Linked DNA regions of Homo sapiens: region 2 is linked to region 1. Evidence: promoter capture Hi-C in 16 types of primary human blood cells and fetal thymus (Javierre and others, 2016). All regions are on one chromosome and are shown on one strand. The core of a region is centred on a gene start or on the middle of the fragment in contact, and the rest is flanking DNA. Distances in the headings are between cores, read along the strand shown.

Region 1 (6,755 bases), core at 1,505-4,004:
AAAAAAAATGGATGTAATTTGGTTAAATGAAGAGAAGGATTCAATTAAAAAATGATTCTCCCAAGTGTCAGATCTTTAAATCTTACTCTAAACGCATGCCTTCAGCTTGGCTTGAATTTCTATTGGTTTGCTTTTATGCTTTTTTTCCCCTCACCTTGTACATTTTGAAGGCTAGGTAGGGTGGGAAAATGGATTATAGAAAAAAGAAGAATGAATGAATGCTCTAACCAATAGAACTTTCTGCAGTGATTGAAGATTCTATTCTGTGCTGTCCAATACAGTAGCCACTAGCCACATATAGGCAATTGAAGCGTGGCCAGTGGAACTGAGGAACTGAATTTTAAACTTCATTGGAAATATGATTAGTGGCTATTGTATTAGAAAGCGCTATGTGTTCCAACCACTTAGCAATATGCCATACACACCCTAGTAAAGGTGCAATTAAATATGAAGGCTTCTATTAACCTAGTTATGGGGGACACTTATTTGGGTGTGCATGGGCTTGCCCAATCAAGGATTGGAGCACCAAGTTTCCTAAAAACAACCCTGCAAGAGCTTATTCTTAATTTGCACGGTACCTTCAGGCACATTATCTCACTTAATCCCATAACAACTTTGAAGTGGGTAGAGCAGAGATTATCACCTCCATGAACCCCAGTAAGTTTAGGTGATGATGGCAAGGCCCTACAGCAAATGAGGGTGGAGACTAGAAGCCAGGTGTTTCTCCTCCTGGTTAGAAAATGCTTTCCATCCAGGCGTGGTGGCTAACGCCTGTAATCCCAACACTTTGGGAGGCCGAGGCGGGTGGATCATCTGAGGTCAGGAGTTCGAGACCAGCCTGACCAACCTGGTGAAACCCCGTCTCTACTAAAAATACAAAATTAGTCGGGCATGGTGGCGCATGCCTGTAATCCCAGCTACTCAGGAGGCTGAGGCAGGAGAATCGCTTGAACCTGGGAGGCGGAGGTTGCAGTGAGCTGAGATAGGGTATTGCACTCCAGCTTGAGCGACAGAGCAAAACTCGGTCTCAAAAAAAAAAAAAAAAAAAAGAAGAAAGAAAGAAAAAAGAAAAAAAGAAAAAGAAAAGAGAAAGAAAGCAAACTCTTTCCAGGGGAACAGTGAAGGGAGAATGGTCTCCTGCTACCCATGTCTGCTACTCATATCCTGGGTCTCAAGGATGAAGAGGGGTGCCATGCTTCACATGCTTTTTTTTTTTACTTGAGTGTGGTTAATGGGCCATAGGCTATTAATGAGAACCTTATCTTATTCCCTTCCTGCTACCTGAATTTAGGCAGTAAAGATGTTTTTGAAAATTTCATTTATATATTCAAAATTATGTATTGAGTACCAGTCATGTCGCAGGTACTGTTCTAGGTCTGGGGACACAGCTGTGAACAAAGCAAAGATCCCTCCCTTGTGGAGGTAACCCTTCTGGTGGAGAGAGACTGATAATAAATACATTGTGTATATATAGGATTTTTGCAACATTTCAAAGATATTTTAAATATGCCATGGTCTCTCATGTCTTTTATGGCACACACGCACCCTGTCCAATGTATCTTTTGTGTAAATCTGGACTTAACACTTCAAGCAAACTGCCTGGCTTGCTGAAAGGTGGAGACACCTTTCGATTCAGTCTTTTAATATGTGTTGAGTGCCACCTATGTGCAGAGCAAGATATTGGGGACTTTGGAGAGATCCAGAAGAGTGAGAAGACAGTATCCTACCTTAGGGGGTTCCCAGTCCAATGAGGGAAGCAGCCCCATGCCTTGGGAGCTCCCAAGCTATAGAAGCAGCTAACAATCGAGTCTGGAAAGGCAAACAACTTCAGGACCCGCTTCTAAAGCGGAATCGCAAGTACACGCAAAATGAATCCAGCCTTGACTGTGTGGAGTTGGGTAAACCACCTGCCTCTTACGTTGATGGGGAACTAGAATGAGGACAGCTCCAGGGAACAAGAAAGGGTAGACCATAGGAGCTGTCCCATGTCCCAACAGTGGGGAGGAGCTGATGGGCGGCCCCTGCTGGATTAGTGTTATCCTGAGAAGGCTTCTGGATGCGATGGGATTTGAGGTGCTGCTGCAAAGAATGAATTGCTCACGGAAGGGTGGGGTGGGGGCATTCCAGGTAGAGGGTGCCTCCTGGGGGATGCAGGGAACATGAGGGGCCTGGGCAATTAATCAAGCCTTGGGCACAAGCCTAGGCAGTCACCCCCAATTCAAAGCCAGTTGAAAATGCAGAGGAGAGAGGAGGGCCAGTGTTTGGTTGTCTTGACCAAACCCTTGAAGCTGGCCAGCGGCAAGGGCAAGGACCAGGGTCAGAGGTAGAGGGCGTGAGTGAAGGCAACCCAGACTGAGTCCTTCCCTAAGCGCCCAGGTTTCCTGACAGCTGTTAAGGAAGCAAGGTGAGAAAGGGTTAAGTGTGCCCCTCCACCGCCCCAAATGCTTCCTGTGTTTGAAATCCTTCAGGTCTCTGCAAACCCTCTGGCCCCCGGCCAGGCGGGCATTGTCCGGGGAGCGGTTGTAGGTTGTCAGAGAGGCCGCGCAGCCTTTGTTGTGGGGCCACCTCGGGGTTCCCTCTCGCGCTCACGCTCGGGCTGGGGCTGCAGAGTGCGTGCCTGGAGGGGGGCGGTGCGGGAGGCTCGCTCCCTCTCCCTCTTCCTGCCCCCCCTCTAGCCCTCCCGATGACCACATGACCAAGTGGGCTCGCGGCCAAGCCACAAGCTACAAAATGCAGCCCCTGGAGTGAGCGGGGAGCATTCTCTCTGGCAGCCGGGGTCACGGGCAGTTGCAGCCGCGGCCGAGCAGCCAGCCGCTAAGAAAGAGCTCGCCGCTGCCGCTCCCGGAGCCGCCGAGGCCAGCTTCGCGGCGCTGCCCCGCGGCGGGAGAGGAGGCTGCAGAAGAGCGGAGGCGGCCAGCGGGAGCGGCGGGGCTCAGCGCGCACACTCAGCGGCCGGGGAGCCTCCCGAGCTCTGCGCCCGCACGCGCCAGCCGCGGCTCGCGCCTTTCTTGGCCTCCGGGCGCCCGACCTCTCCTCCCCCGCGCCGGCTCGCCGGGGCCGCGGCGGCCCAAGGAGCAGCATGAATCTGCGGCTCTGCGTGCAGGCGCTCCTGCTGCTCTGGCTCTCCTTGACCGCGGTGTGTGGAGGTGAGTGCGCGCCCTCCCGCTCGCCCGGGCTGCAGCCGGCGTGCTCCTTTCCCTCCGCCCTATTCGCACTCTCCCCGCCTCCCGGGGAGCCCGGCGCGAGCCGTGCAGTAGCAGCCACGCGCCGGCCAGCGCCAGGCAGCAGATTGACAGAGCGCCCCGAGCCATGGGGCGGCTGGCCACAAGGACTGCTTCTTTTGCGGGGCTCAACTCGGCCTTTGGCATCACCTGCCCGTCACCTTGTCCCTCCTAACCGTCGCTCGCAGTCCCAGGAGCTCAGGACCACAGGTGTGCGCCGCGTGTCCCACGCCCTGCACCCCGCGTGGTAGAGGTGGAGGCGGGGGACATGCCCGCTCCCTCGTGGATCGATGGAAGGAACTGACCAGAGTCGAGTGGGCTGGGCTCCCATGTTGAACGTCTTCTGGTCCCTGAAGGCTGGGAGCCTCCCGCCAGTCCAGGGGCGCGGGAAACCGGGGATGATGTGCCAACATGCAGACGTGACACTTGTTGCATAGGCAGGAGTGCGCGGAGGGGGTGGCGGCATGGAGCCCAGCTGTTGCTCCTTTCGGCCTGCATGTGTGAGCAGAGGCAGCCTCCCCCAGGCAGGGCCGGGCCCAGCCGGGCTGGGCTGGTCTTCTCCTCCCTAACCCCAAGGTCCTGGCTGGTCTCCTCCCCTGCACAGGATGCCCTCCCCATAGCCTCCATCCCACCCCCAGAGACTTGGTTCTCTTACATCCTGGCTCCAGCCTTCCTTTCTGTCCCAGGCACGGACATGCTTCACTTTAGTCTCCCTGCCGCTAGGCACCAAAGGAGGAAGCACAGCACCTGACCCGACCCCTCCCTGCAGCTCAGGAAAGGGGAGTCCTTTTGCCCTCACCTGCCAATACTTGGCACTAGTGCCCATGTCCGCCCCTAGCCTGGTCCCCAACCACGCCCCAGCAGCCCCATCCCAGGCTGCCTGTCCTCTGTGTCAATGTCTCCTGGGGCTGCCAGCTCCCACCTCCAGCTGCCACAGTCCTATGATCTGGCTGTCATTGCTGCCTGCCTGGCACCACACAAGGGGAAGGCCAAGACCAGGTGGACTAACGCCAGGACCATGGCTGGAGTCACAGGGAGGTGGGAGCAGAAAGAAGGAGAAGGCAGGGCAGTGAGTTTCCTGGGGCAAGGGCACAGGGCCCTAAGTGGTTCCAAACCCTCCAGAACAGGAGGATGGCATGCAGCCCAGGAGCCTCCGAGGGGCCCAGCCAGCTCTGCCTGCCTCTCATCGCAGGCCACCTCCTTTCTCTGCTCTTGCTTTTTGGCCCTGCTGTGGCTCTGGGAACACTGCCTGGCTTCTCAGAAAGGTGCAGTGGTTGGGGCTGGCACCTCCTGCCTCCAGGTAGCTGGCCGGTGATTTCTCTATTCAAGACCTGAACACGAAGTGAGCCACCACCACAGTAAGAAGTGGGTAGGCTTTTTCCACAGAAACTCCTGTCAGGCAGGTAACAGAGGGAGCAAAAGATACGAATGTAAGATACGAATGATACACCATACCAGCCTATCCTCAGGGAGCCTACCATCTGGTGTCATTGGCAAGGCATGACACTTGCACAATACCACCACAGGCAAATAGTCCAGGGTGGTGCCTTCAGGGAAGAAGAAGACTGGGTGCAGAGAGTGTTCCAGAGGAAGGTAGGGCTCCTGGATCTGCACACTTGGTGCTCCCCCCAGAGGCTGTGGGGAGACCCCTGGCCAATAGACAACCACTCAGACCCTCCTGGGTCCCAGCCATTGGGACAGTACTAGCAAAGGGGAGAGAGCTGGTTTCAAGGGAAGGGAAGTCAGCCAGGATGCCCGAACACCATGTGGCTGGTCCAGAGCCTGCCACTTCGTGCTTTAATTCCCCCGTCTTCATTAGGTCATCTGTCCACTGTGATTTGGATAAATTCGTTGCCCTCACATTTTGCTCAAGCCTCGTGCTGGAAACTTTCAGGGCTCTCACTGACTTCTCTACTCCCTGACTTCTCCTGGAGCCAAGGAAGGGCATGTCCCTGGAAGTGGCCACCAGCCAAGGGTCCAGGTACACATGTCCTGCTCCCGCTGGCTCCTGTCCTGGGTTAGAAGCAGGAATCCCAGAACCACTTTGTCCTTGGCCCGGACTGGCATGCTGTCCCCAGCCAGAGTCCCCAGTCAAAGTTCCAGCCTGAAAACCACACTTCCTCCTCTCCACAGTCTGTCCTGACTTGAAATGTCCACCCCCGACCCCTCTCCACGCTGCCTCTCATCACCCCGCTACCACCACGTACACTCCTCCACTGCCTCCTGACCTGGGATACACTTTGCTCTTGTGAGTCTGAGAACTCCTGGTCCAGGGCCAAGTGTCCCTCGGTCTCTGAGCACCCCTCTTTTTCCCCTTCTCCTCCCCCTCCGCAGGCCCAGCTCAAAGCCTGCAGTCACAGTGGGAGTGTGAGGAGAGCCTACTGTACCCCTCCTGCTCAGGGAAGGGCATCTCTACTCCATCCCCAGTCCTCAGCACTAAGCACCCGTGTAACCTGAGCCAGGCCTCTCCTCGCAAAGAACTAAGGCAAGGGAAGCAGAGGGCCACCAGACAGAGCATGATGTATCCCAGGGCAGCAAAGCTGGCACTGGAGACAGCACAGGGCCCTGGAGAAGGCGACTGGGATGGGGGGCTGGGCAGACAAAGAGACACATGCAGGACCACAGAGCAGTGGAGGGGCATTGCCAGCAGGGTCCCCACCGGAGCATACGTTTGGGCTTTTAAAGTCATCACAAGACAGGCCAGACTGAGAGAGGAAAAACAGGTGCGTCATTCCTGATGAGACTGGCATGTTCCTGAAAAGTCGCAAGTACCTCTTTGTGCATTGGCAGGGTTGGAGTTCAGATAGCATGAAAGTCAAATCCTGTCCTCCCCCTGACTGTGGTTCTCAGCGTGGAGATGTTGTAGCTTCGTGGCTGATGGCACTTCAGCAGGCAATGGCTCCAATCTCTCTAGGCTCGAGATTGTTTGGAGGATTGCTCCAGCCTCCTTTTACGTAGCAAATGAGCTGGAAGAAAATATTTAAGTGCATTAGGGCTGGCCTCCATTTCTAAAGGGGAATTCTTTTTTACAGTCAAGACTTCTGCAGTGATGAGAATCAACAGCCTCTAATTTGTTCCTTTGGACAGCATAAAGCCAGGGTTTCAGATGTCAGCTTATCTGATGGTGAGCCAGACTCAGAATCAAAAGTAGGAAACAGGTGGGTGACGGGCTCAGAGTGCGGGAGGAGCCAGCAGATCTCGGTGATGCTGAGGACAATGAGTCCCCAACGCAATGGGAGGGATGCAAGAAGCCTGGGGCTGCTCTCCAGGGCCCGGCTGGGGGTTCAGTCAGCTCAGAGTGGTTCTTCTCTGCAGACCTAGAGTCTAGACATCTTCCTGGCCAGAGCCACCAACCCTGCTCCCCATCCTGACATATGGCCTCTAGCCCTCCCTTTCTGACTGCCAGACACTCACAATCTGAGCACCTGGAGATGATGCCCTCCCCCTCCTGGCACCATGCTTCTCTTCTCCATGTCTGCCACCACCCTGAGCTACAATGGCCTGCACCACTGCCCCATCCCTTCTGCACCCCCA
Region 2 (6,755 bases), core at 1,665-4,164, 540 kb before region 1:
ACAACAGACACTATTGAGGGTGTTCATGAACCACTTGTAAGGTGGAACATGTAACGAGGCTAGCAATAATCATTTTCATGTCAGGCGTGGCAGCTCATGCATGTAATTCCAGCACTTTGGGAGGCCGCGGCGGGTGGATCATGAGGCCAGGAGTTTGAGACCAGCCTGGCCAACATGGCGAAAACCTGTCTCTACCAAAAAATACAAAAATTAGCCTGGTGTGGTGGCACACGCTTGTAATCCCAGCTCCTTGGGAGGCTGAGGCAGGAGAATCACTTGAACCCGGGAGGCGGAGGTTGCAGTGAGCCAAGGTCGCACCACTGCACTCCAGCCTGGGTGACAGAGTGAGACTCCATCAAAAAAAAGAAAAAACACTTGGCACAAAGCTAAAGTAATCAGAACAGTGTGGTCCTGCCACAGGGTAGAAAAAGAGAAGTGGAATAGAATGAGAGTCCAGAAATAAACCCACACACTGCACTCAAGGGTGGCAGAGCAAGGCTCTCAAAAAATCATTTTCATATTTTTGGAAATTATATCAGGAAAAATAGTATGGTCATTGTGTTCATAAAATCTAAGGAATACATAACGGACAGTCACTTTACATGATTTCAAACTCGAGAAGTTTCAGACTTAATCGTATCTAGCTTCTCTGTAACTCATGCTTGGCTTATTAATCTACCTACTTTTCTTGGAACTATTACTATTTTCAGCCTATTATCCATTAACGAGTTTCTTACTCTGTAAAGTCTTACTTCCTGTTTAAACAGCTTCAAGAGAGTGTCTTAATACTAGGATTACAAGGTCCAAGATTCAATACCTGACTCTGCAGTAAACCCTCTCTGCACCCTTACAGGTGCAGTGCAGTGGAGTGGTTAGAGCCCAGGCTCTGCAGCAGACTGCCTAGGTTGGAATTCCTCCCCTACCAGTGATTAGATTTGTGTGTGTGACTTTAGGCTCTGTGTCTCATTTTCCTTATTTGTAAATTGCATGTAACAGCATCTACTCAGAATTGAGGGAATTAATTGAGTTAATACAGTATATGTATATCCCACTTAGAACAGTGATTGGCACACAGGAATGCAATCCAACATTGTTACGATTATTGCTACATTGTGACTACCTTTCCTGATTTTATTTGTCTTAATTTTATTCAGATAGAAATAGTTCGAATCTTCACCCAGTTTTTCATTCCAGCCTCCTCACACCACCTTCACAATCAATGACTATTAACTCTCTTTTCCTAACCCAGTGGCTTTCTTGAGGGTCACTGTTGAAGCACATAGTACTAAAGATAAGCATACCATTATATTTCTTGGTTTCTCAAGCTCACCAGACTAATATTTTTAAGGAATGTCTATCAATGCTCCTGGGTTCACTTTAGTCGTAATTGTCATTTATAAATATTAGGTTAGTGCCAAAGTAATCACGGTTTTTCCCATTACTTTCAATGGCAAAAACCGCAATTACTTTTGCACCAATCTAATAGTATTAAGATATTTCCCCTATATTATGCTACCTTATACTTGGCCACACCATAGTTCACCTCATGCTCATACTCATATACCTCTCTTCTCTGATTTTGAAACCCTTCTGCAGTTTGATTCTTGTCAGTTTGGTATTTGACCACCTGAAAAAGCTTAATATCATCAACAAACTTGGAGAGGCTGCTGTGCATGACTTCTACTGTTTCTAATCCTCCACACTGAAAAATATCTGTTTGTCCATACCACTGTGATATTCGGTGGCTGGGGGGGCTGCTGAAGAGAGTGTAGCCTCGAAATAACAGTCCTAGGTTTCAATCCTGGTTTTGTATCTGAACAGCTGTGTAGCCTTGAGTAAATTACCTGAACTTGTTCAGTCTCAGCTTCCTCATCAGTGAGAGGCATGTAATGGTGATATTCTTGCAAAGTTGTAAGGAATATATATACACAAACGCTCCTCAACTTACAATGGGGTTGCATTATGACATACCCATCCTAAATTGAAAATATCATAACTTGAAAATGCATTTAACACACCTAACTTACCTAACATCGTAGCTTAGCCTAGCCTACCTCGAATGTGCTCAGAACACTTACATTAGCCTACAGTTGGGCAAACTCTACTGGCAACACAGTACAATGTGTTTTTGGTTGTTTACCCCTTGTGATCTCATGGCTGCCTGAGAGCTGTGGCTCGCTGCCACTGCCCAGCATCACGAGAGAATCTCCTAATGCATATTGCTAGCCCAGAAAAAAAAATTGAAGTACAGTTTCTACTGAAGGTGTGTGTATCCCTTTCACAGCATTGTAGAGTCAAAAAATCATAAGTTGGCTGGACGTGGTGGCTCATGCCTATAATCCCAGCACTTTGGGAGGCAGAGGCAGGCAAATCATCTGAGCCCAGGAGTTCAAGACCAGCCTGACCAACATGGGGAAATCCCGTCTGTACTAAAAATACAAAAATTAGTCGGGTGTGGTGGTGCACGCCTGTAGTCCCAGCTACTCTGGAGGCTGAGGTGGGAGGATCACCTGAGCCCAGGAGGCGGAGGTTGCAGTAAGCCAAGATGGTGCCCCTGCACTCCAGCCTGGGCGAGGGAGAAAGACTCTGTCTCAACAACAACAACAAAAGTCATAAGTCTGGCCGGGCACGGTGGCTCATGCCTGTAATCTCAGCACTTTGGGAGGCCAAGGCGGGAGGATCACAAGGTCAGGAGTTCAAGACCAGCCTGGCCAACATGGTGAAACCCTGTCTCTACTAAAAAAAAAAAATACAAAAATTAGCTGGGCATGGTGGCGTGTGCCTGTAATCCCAGCTTCTTGTGAGGCTGAGGCTGGAGAATTGCTTGAACCTGGGAGGCGGAGGTTACAGTGAGCCGAGGTGGCGCCACTGCACTCCAGCCTGGGCAACAGAGCACGACTCCATCTCAAAAAAAAAAAAAAAAAAAAAACTCATAAGTCAAACCATTGTAACTCGAGGACCATCTGTATATTATATATGTATAACGTTTGGCTCTGGCGTGACAGAGTAGACAATGAATAAACAATGCTGATGTTACTGCTACTCCTGCTGCTGCTTCAGCTGTTATTGCTGTTAATTCTGTTACTGCTGTTACTATCACTACTGCTGAGACCCTGGAAACAACACATCAGTGGAATCTTCTCTGACAGTTTTAGTGGCAATCCATCAACATTGTGGTTATTCATAACTTTGGCTTATAATTCCCAGGTCTTGAAGTACATTCCTTCAAACTGTCGGGTGGATGACATCTTATCACAGTGCTTCAATTACATGTGGCATAATTCTCTAATGTCGGAAATGAGCGTAGCTCTGGCTTTTTCTGTCTAAGGACTACGAAATGACACTGCCTTATTGAAAACTACTACGGAATCCTGTCTGCTCTGGAGGGAAGCATTCCTTTTGTGCTAAAGAACCCCTTCTTTAAAAGAAACTTCTTTATTCATTATTACCAGTAATTCACTTCCAGAAATAAAGGAATCTTGAATCAATGAAATCTTGGGTACTTATTCAATACAATTAATTATATGAAAACGTAATTTTTTTTTCTTTTTTTTTTTTTTTTTTGAGACAGGGTGTTGCTCTGTCACCCAGGCTGGAGTGCAGTGGCACGATCTCGGCTCACTGCAACCTCTGCCTCCCGGGTTCATGCGAGTCTCCTGCCGCAACCTCCTGAGTAGCTGGGATTACAGGCACCCGCCATCACGCCCAGCTAATTTTTTTTGTATTTTTAGTGGAGACGGGGTTTCCCCATGTTGGTCAGGCTGGTCTCGAACTCCTGACCTCAGGTGATCCACCCGCCTCAGCTTCCCAAAGTGCTAGGATTACAGGCGTGAGCCACCGTTCCTGGCCAAAAACATGTAATTTTAAATAGCAGTAGTAAAGTGTTCTTTCCTTTTGTAGGACTTTTAAAATGATTGAGAAATACCTTACTTTCTCAGAGAGTAGGGATATTTTCACTCAATCTTGAAATCGTCCTTTTCTGTTTTCCCCTTATCTCCATTTTTCCCCCTCGTCTATCTTCTCCAGTATGTTCTCCTAACTAGATTATCATAACATAGAATCGAAGGAAAGTGTTAAGTTGTGTAAGTGTTTTTCTTGATAAAATAACAGAAGAGGGTATTTCTATCTAGCAAATCTTCAGTGCCTCAGAACATAAGAATCCTTGATAAATTAGTAGATACCCCAAGCTTGGAAAACTCAGCTACTTAACAAGTTGTCTTATTGATTGAGTCAAATCCTTAAAGGCCACAATTTGAAGTAATTTCAAACAGTTGATTTAGTTCTCTTGGTAACTTCCAAGTGGCTTTGCGGTCAAGTTACCTCAGTTTTGAATAATTTAAAAGAAGGACATATTCAGCACAGCTTCATTTTTAAAACTGAATGATTGGGCGCTACATGAATGATCTTCCATTTTCATTCTTTACAAGTGTCCTTTATGTCAGGGGAATTGGATAAGGAATAATACACAAATGTTTATGCATAAAATACATTTTATATTTTATCTAAATTCAAGGAAATACCATAAAGGTGATTTTCGATTCCATTATGCAAATGCAGAAACTGAGGTAACATCATTCTGAAAATAAATGGTTATCAGGAAGTACTGGCTTGTTCATACTATAGAGCACCATTTTTCCTGCTCTGGTTTTAATCCCTCTTCCCTTCTTTCTTTACTGAAAGGTCTATACTATTCGAAGCTGACTTCTGATCTGTTGACAAGTAAACAATCCTTATCTAGAGACCTAAAACTTCGTTCTCTTCATAGCTGTCTTAACATGCATATGGCCATAGAAACCAGTGCACAATCACTATTTTTGTTGTTCAGAGGAATGGAGAACTGAAAAGGACCTTGGAGGTCATTTCTTCCCATCCTTCAAATGGTGCAGGAAGCTCCTCTAAAATACCTCTTTTTTAAAAGTTTCAGTTGTTCAAGCTGGCCCATCCGTTCCTAGACTTTCCATCCCCCTGCCTTGCCCTCCCCTCCTGGGAGGATGATTTGTTCCTCAGGAGCCTGCTCAACCCTTACCCCCACGTTCTGGGCCCAAGCCTGACCTAAGAATGAATTCAGCTAAGAATGAAGGGAATGAAGTTGTCGATCTCCGGATAAGGATTGTTTACTTGTCGACAGATCAAAAGTCAGCTTTGAATAGTACAGACCTTCCATTAAAGAAAATGCTCTGATTTGATTAAAACCAGGGCAAGGAAAATGGTGCTCTATAATGTGAACAGGTCAGTACTTCCTGATAACCATTTATTTTCTGAATGACAAATTACCTCAGTTTCCACCTCTGCAAAATGGAATTGAAAATCATTTTTACAGGATTTTCTTGAATTTCAATAAAATAATATCTGGCATCTAACATCAACTCCCATCTAATCTACTAGTTAATCCTAAATGAAGCAGAGATGGGACCATTAACTTCAGGCCCAGGAGCACATCCTCCTCTCAGGGTTGAGAGAAATAGAGAAAGATAAGGGAAATTAACATTGTGGTTCAGACCATTCAGTTCTAGTCTGCTCCAACACTTGCAGTCATGTGGCCTTCGGCAGGAAGCTTTGATCATTCTGTACCTCAGAGGGTAATTGTGATGTGAGGATTAAGCATGACGGTCCACATTAAGCATATAACATTGTACTTAGTAGTACACAGCACTCGATAAATGTTAGCTGCTATTAATAATTGTCATTATTTCGGTTGGAAGCATCGAGACTGAAAACTAGATGTGGTCTGATATCATCCTTCTCATTTGGTGATCTCCCTAAATAGACAGGGAGAACAACAATGCCTGGGGTACCTCTCCTTTATCTGAGGTGCCAGGGTTTCTACCTGGAATTGGTGAGTAGGGGTTAGGTCAGCCTGTTTTGTTTTGTTTTGTTTTGTTTTGTTTTGTTTTGTTTTGAAACGGAGTCTCACTCTGTCGCCCAGGCTGGAGTGCAATGGCGCTATCTTGGCTCATTGCAACCTCTGCCTCCCAGGTTCAAGCGATTCTCCTGCCTCAGCCTCCCAAGTAGCTGGGATTACAGGCAAGGGCCACGAGGCCCAGCTAATTTTTTGTATTTTTAGTAGAGATGGGGTTTCACCATGTTGGCCAGGCTGGTCTCAAACTCCCAATCTCAGGTGACCCACCCGCCTCAGCCTCCCAAAGTGCTGGATTACAGGTGTGAGCCACCGTGCCTGGCCCAGGTTTTTTATTTATGCTTGTACCTGAAACTTTCTCCAGTACTTTAAGATTAAATTCAGAGGGTCACAGTACCTACTTTATCGATGGGGAAGGGATTAAGTACCACCTATAGATTCAAATCAGGTTATGAGGTCCATTTCTCATTCTAGTTCAACTACATCATGGCTTAGGGGCCTCTCTCTATGCCCTCTGGTGGGTTTGTTTGTTTTTCTGAGACGGAGTCTTGCTCTGTCGCCCAGGCTGGAGTGCAGTGGCGTGATCTCAGTGGCGAGATCTCAGCTCACTGCAACCCCTGCCTCCCGGGTTCAAGCAATTCTCCCACCTCAGCCTCCTGAGTAGCTAGGATTATGGGTGCACGCCACCACACCCAGCTAATTTTTGTATTTTTAGTAGAGACAGGGGTTTCACCGTGTTGGCCAGGCTGGTCTCCATCTCCTGACCTTGCGATCCACCCACCTTGGCCTCCCAAAGTGCTGGGATTACAGGCGTGAGCCACCGCGCCCGGCCAATCCTGGTAGTCTTTAAGAGAGACCACTGGCCAGGCGCGGTGGCTCACACCTGTAATCCCAGCAC

What was found. The method cuts DNA at HindIII sites, captures the fragments that hold promoters and counts their contacts. A CHiCAGO score of 5 or more calls a contact.
Region 2: a fragment that was not itself captured here is called in contact with the fragment with the promoter of APLN in region 1 in 4 of 17 cell types (neutrophils, activated CD4 T cells, total B cells and 1 more); the score reaches 8.4 in neutrophils.

The regions. Positions count from the first base shown.
Region 1 is chrX:129,650,955-129,657,709 of GRCh38, reverse strand. It overlaps APLN (apelin), which reads left to right and starts at 2,754. Exons shown (of 3, transcript NM_017413.5): 1 at 2,754-3,146. The coding sequence starts at 3,080. RefSeq lists enhancers at 1,571-1,630, 1,641-1,730, 3,423-3,482 and silencers at 2,913-2,992, 3,083-3,132. The HindIII fragment of the contact is 20,761 bases long and covers 1-6,755 here.
Region 2 is chrX:130,193,063-130,199,817 of GRCh38, reverse strand. No RefSeq gene overlaps it. Among named protein-coding and RNA genes, the nearest start is that of RAB33A, 24 kb to the right of the region's middle. The HindIII fragment of the contact is 2,551 bases long and covers 1,639-4,189 here.